Linked DNA regions of Homo sapiens: region 1 is linked to region 2. Evidence: promoter capture Hi-C in human tissues and cell types (Jung and others, 2019). All regions are on one chromosome and are shown on one strand. Each heading gives the region's core, a stretch centred on a gene start or on the middle of the fragment in contact. The rest is flanking DNA. Distances are from core to core; before and after follow the strand shown. Region 1 has its middle 120 kb from the start of LINC02195. Region 2 holds the start of GSG1L (GSG1 like).

What was found. The method cuts DNA at HindIII sites, captures the fragments that hold promoters and counts their contacts. A contact is called where the count stands out against the background at its distance.
Region 1: a contact is called between a fragment that was not itself captured here and the fragment with the promoter of GSG1L in region 2, in 1 of the 25 tissues and cell types used here (dorsolateral prefrontal cortex).

Annotation. Positions count from the first base shown.
Region 1 is chr16:26,473,504-26,476,203 of GRCh38, forward strand. No RefSeq gene overlaps it. Among named protein-coding and RNA genes, the nearest start is that of LINC02195, 120 kb to the right of the region's middle. The HindIII fragment of the contact is 5,496 bases long and covers 1-2,700 here.
Region 2 is chr16:28,062,369-28,065,068 of GRCh38, forward strand. It overlaps GSG1L (GSG1 like), which reads right to left and starts at 1,346. Exons shown (of 7, transcript NM_001109763.2): 1 at 708-1,346. The coding sequence starts at 1,056. The HindIII fragment of the contact is 12,466 bases long and covers 1-2,700 here.

The DNA of each region.
Region 1 (2,700 bases), core at 3-2,502, 1.6 Mb before region 2:
AAGGCATTATTACAAAAATAAAGAGGTGATTCACAGACTGGTAGAAAATATTTATAAAACACATCTATCAAATGGTTTATATCTTAAAAATGTAAGAAATTCTAACAACTCAATAACAAGAAGACAGATGCCCTAAATTTTAAAAAAAGCAAAAGTTTTCAGCAGGCACTTCACACAAAAAGATAAATAGATGGCAAATAAGCACATTAAAAGATACACAACATAATTAACCCTGGGAAAATTCAAATTAAAAGCATAACAAGATAATATCATGTACCCACCAGAATGCCTAAAGTTAAAGATAAGTCATGCCAAATATTGGTAAAGATAGTAAACAGCTCTTACATACTGCTGGTGGAAATATAACATTGCATAACCCCTGTGGAAAACAATATGGCAGTGTCTTAAAAAGTTAATCATGTACATATAATACCACATGGCCCAGCTATTCTTCTAGGTACTTATCCAAGAAAAATGAAAGTATATGACCACACAATTACTTCTAAATAAAAGCATATAGAAACATTACTTGTAATAGCCAAAGACTGGAAATAATGAAAACGTCCATCAACAGATGAGTGAATAAATAAATTGTGGCATATCCACACAGTGGTGTACCACTCAGCAATGAAAAGGAACAAAATATTGATAACTATTGTGTCCAGAATTGGTTCCTTCCAGTAGGTTCTTGGTCTCCTTGACTTCAAGAATGAAGCCGCAGACCCTTGTGGTGAGTGTTACAGTTCTTAAAGATGGTGTGTCCAGAGTTTGTTCCTTCAGATGTTCAGATGCGTCCAGAGTTTCTTCCTTCCGGTGGGTTCGTGGTCTTGCTTGACTTCAGGGGTGAAGCTGCAGACCTTTGTTGTGAGTGTTATAGCTCATAAAGGAAGTGCGGACCCAAAGAGTGAGGAGCAGCAAGATTTATTGTGAAGAGCCAAAGAACAAAGCCTCCACAACATGGAAACGGACCCGAGCGGGTTGCAGCTGTTGGTTGGGTGGCCAGCTTTTATTCCCTTATTTGGCCCTGCCCACGTCCTGCTGATTGGTCCATTTTACAGAGTGTTGATTGGCCCATTTTACAGAGTGCCGATTGGTCCGTTTTTACAGAGTGCTGATTGGTGCGTTTACAAACCTTTAGCTAGACACAGAGCACTGATTGGTGCATTTACAAACTTTAACTAGACACAGAGCGCTGATTGGTGCGTTTTTACAGAGTGCTGATTGGTGCATTTACAAACCTTTAGCTAGACACAGAGCACTGATTAGTGCATTTACAAACGTTTAGCTAGACAGAAAAGTTCTCCAAGTCCCTACCCGACCTAGAAGCCAAGCCGGCTTCACCTCTCACTATTAAATATGAGTGAATCCCAAAATTATTCTTAGTGTAAGAAGCCAGACAAAAGGAGTACACAGGGTATGATTCAATTCATAAGAATTCTACAGAATGAAAATTTGTCTATAGGAACAGAAAGCAGACCAGTGGCTGCCTGAGGATAGGTTGGGAGAAGGGAATGATGCAGGATGTGGTGCAATTTCAACCCTCACGCTTTGCAACTGCTTTGGAAAGGGGTTGGTGGTTTCCTATAAAGTTAAATATACACTTCCTATAGGATCTGGCAATTATATGATTAAAAGATAAATAAAATGATATGTTCATAAAAAGCCTTGTACACCAATATTTTATAGCAGCATTTCTCATAATAACCCAAATGTCTTGCGAAAGGTAAAAGCTTGAAAAAGTGATATATTTATGCAAAGGATACTTGATAACAATGAAAAAGAACAAGTTAGTGATACACACAATAATGTGGATGAAACTCAGAAGCATTATGCTGAGCAAAAAAGTAAGATAAAAGGAAAGCAGGATCCCTTTACTTGAATTTCTAAAATAGGCAAAACTATAGCGATAGATACCATATCAGCAACTGCTTGGATTATGCAGTCAGAGGCGATTTACTGCAAAAGGCTCCTGAGGAAACTCTCTGACGTGAGAGAAACATTCTCTGTCTTTATTGGGAATGATGCTTACACGGGTCTATAAACTGGCCAAAATTCATAGAACTATACACCTAAAATATGTCCTTTTTATTGTATGTAAATGATGCTTCAGTGCTGTTGATTTTAAAATGGATAGAGTATGGAGAATTGGAAACAGAAGTGAAAGAGAACAAGTCCCCGAGGCCTTAGGATTTGTGTTTCCCCAGTCACTTTATAAGAAACAGCAGGTGGCTCTTGCCAAATTGAGTTTATTTTTAGGCAAACAGTTCATTGGTATACCCTAGGGGGTTATTTTCTAGCACTGAGTATTTCCTTTTGCATTTTGTTCTCTGCAAATAAAACAAAATAGTTGGAATGGAGCTTGGCTAAATAACAATTGAGAGTGTTTTGTTCTTGCTGGGATACATAGTAGCGGATCCAAGGTTTTGCTTACATGGTTTCACTCCTGCAGTTTCCATTACCAGTGGTCAACTGCAGTCTGAAAATATTAGGATATTTTGAGAGGAGGTCAGAGGAGAAAGAGAAAGAGAGAGCACATTTATATAGCTTATTTTATGGTATTATGGTATTTTATTATAATTGTTTTATTTTATTATTAGTTATTGCTTGTGTTAATATCTTTCTCTGCCTAATTTATAAATTAAAGTGTTTTGTTTTTTTTGTTTGTTTGTTTGTTTGTTTAGAGACAACATCTCACTATGT
Region 2 (2,700 bases), core at 96-2,595:
GCTAAGCCCTCCTGGACTCCTCGACCCGGAGTTTGCCCAGCTGTCCCCAGTTCCCTAGCCTGCCTCTCCCAGGAGGGGGCCAGGATACAGAGGGCTCCCTGGCGTCTGGCAATAGGGGTGCCTCTGGGCGGGTGCGGCTTTCCGGGAGCCCGCGGGACTCCCCCACTCCCCACTCCCGTCTGGGAGGTTCGGCGTGGGTTGGCGATGGGGGTGGAAGGCTCCCGGGTCTGTGGATCTGCGGCAGGAGGGGCGGCTGGTAGCAGGAGTCCCTGCATCACCCCCACCCCCAGGGGCGTTCCGGGGTGGGTGGGGGCATCTAGTGCCCCGCGAAAGGAAGAGGAGGAGGGGGCGAGCGTGGAGATGAGTTCAGGAGCGGAAAGCAGCGCGCGCCCCTCCGACCGGCAGCGGGGGTGGGCGCCTTCCCGGGGCGCGGGAGCGTCCCCAAAGCCGCGGGGCGTCCGCAGCGGGTAGGAGCTCTGCCTTGCACCTCTCCACGGCGGGGCGTCCCGCACGTCCCCCCATGCTGGTCCCCGGCCCCGGAACGGCGCGCGCCCCCTGCCCCGGAACGTCGCCCCTAGCCAGGCGGAGCGCTGGGAGCTGGGCCCAGGCGGCGGGAGGAGGGCGAACGGGTCCGGGGCTCGGGCCTCGATGGCCGCGCCGCCCCGGGGGAGCCGGAGCCGAGCTGGCCGCCGCCCGCGCGCACTCACCAAGCCCGCTGAGCTCCTCCTCGCACGAGTACCAGATGCCGGTGTGGAAATTCCTGAAGAGGAAGCGGTCGTCGCCGGTCTCCCAGCTGTAGAGCGCGCCGCCAGGGGGGCCGTTCCCCGAGGCGGTGGCGGCGGCGGCGGCGGCGGCGGGGGCGGCGGTGCCGTTGGCCGTGGCGTTGGCGCCCGAGTTGGGGCAGTTGGCGCGCCCGCCCTGGCCGCAGCCCGGCTTGGGGACCCGCTGCGTGCCCTGGCACCAGTGCGTGGTGAGGAAAGCGGTGGTGGCGAACAGCAGCGCCAGCAGGTTCAGGGCCACGGCCAGGAGCGCTCGGCCGCGGCGGCTAGTCTTCATGCCGCCCGCGCCGCCGGGACGGGACTGCACCGCCGGGGAGCTCCGCGCGCGAAGTTGGCAGCTGGCGCCCCGCGTCAGCGGCCGCTGCCCGCCGCGCCCCGGGGCTCGGGTGCCTGAGATCGGCGGCGGCGGACGCGGCGCGGGCCCATGCCCCCCCCAACCCCGGGGTGGGGGCGCGGCGCGGGGGGCGTGCGGGGCGGGCTGGCGGGGCGGGCGGCGGTGGAGGAGCGGCTACGGCGCGCCCGGAGCCCGGAGCGCGAGTGCACCTCGGCTAGGAGCCGCTGGCGCCTGGCAGCGGCCACGGCGCAGGGACGCGCGCCCCTCCGTGGGGAGACACCTGCAGGCGGCCGGCGACACTGTTCCGGAGCCCGCCCGCACGGGGAGAGGGGGCCGCCACGCCGGGCGCGGGCGGGGGCCTGGGAGTGGAGGGACGCCCCCGAAAGAAATCCGAGCCAGGGTGAGGGTCTGAGACGCAAGGAGAATCCCAGGCAAGGCGCTCCTGAGAAAAGATCCCCACGGCGGACGTGGGGCAACAAAACCCGCCGGGAGCGGGCATCTCATGAGACCCAGAGAGGCCCTGCCCCAGGAGACAAGGGCAGAGCCTGCTGGGGCTCCCCAAGAGGGACACGGACCAGCAGGACCCTGTCCCAGAAGGGGATCCCCAAAAGGACCCCCGCACCAGACCCTGAGAAAGGAGTTTTTCCAAAGGTTCTAAACAGCAGAGCCTGCAGGGCTTCCCACAGCCAGGGAGCTGCAAGACCCCCTGGATAAGACAACCCATGCTGGACTTGGAGTGGCAGAATCTGTCAGGAGGCGCCCCTCCTGGAGTATTGGGTTATAGGGTTTGAAACGTTTTTCTGTCTCCTGGGTGTCACCTCCAGCATCTGGGAAGAGCTCCCCTCCAAGGATGAAACTGTCATCTGGGCTCCCAACCATGGCATGCAACTGCAGGAAGAGTGGCAACAGGGTACCCCAGACAGCCCACTGCACCCACCTGAGATCCCAAACAGCAGAACCCTAGGAGGGCCCATGCCGGCCACAAAGTTATTGCAGCTACCAGGCAGTGGTGCCCTACAGGGGCTGCCAACCCTGCTCACATGCACACCATGTGAATGTGGGTAGAATCTTCAAGATTCGGGTGGGGGCAGGGTGGCCAAACATACTGACTTTGGGATCAAGCATATCTAGGGCTTGACCAGCTGTGTGGCTTTGAACAGGTCACTTACCCTCTCTGAGCCTCAATTTCCATAACTATAAAAAAGGGAGGACCCCCCCCCCTTCAAGGTATATCACAGTGGGCTGCTGTAATGAGATCATGGCTGCAAAAAGCATTTGGCACACAGTAGACTCAATTAATAATTCACTGTTACTGACATCTGAACCAAGATCAGTTGACCAAACTCAGACAAACCTCTTCAGGCTCTCCTGTGCAACGTGGAAACTGTGTGCAACCCCGTCCCCACCTCTGCTCTAAGATGACCACGCTCCCTGAACTCCCTTCGCGCTGCACAGCACTTACTGCCCAGATGCTCAGGGCGTGCAACAATTAATTGCATGTTGATTATAAGAGCTCATTTGAATTCTGCCCAAGCTGAGAACTGCTCCGACAACCCCCGGCTTGCCGAGTGGCAGGCCTTGCAGAAT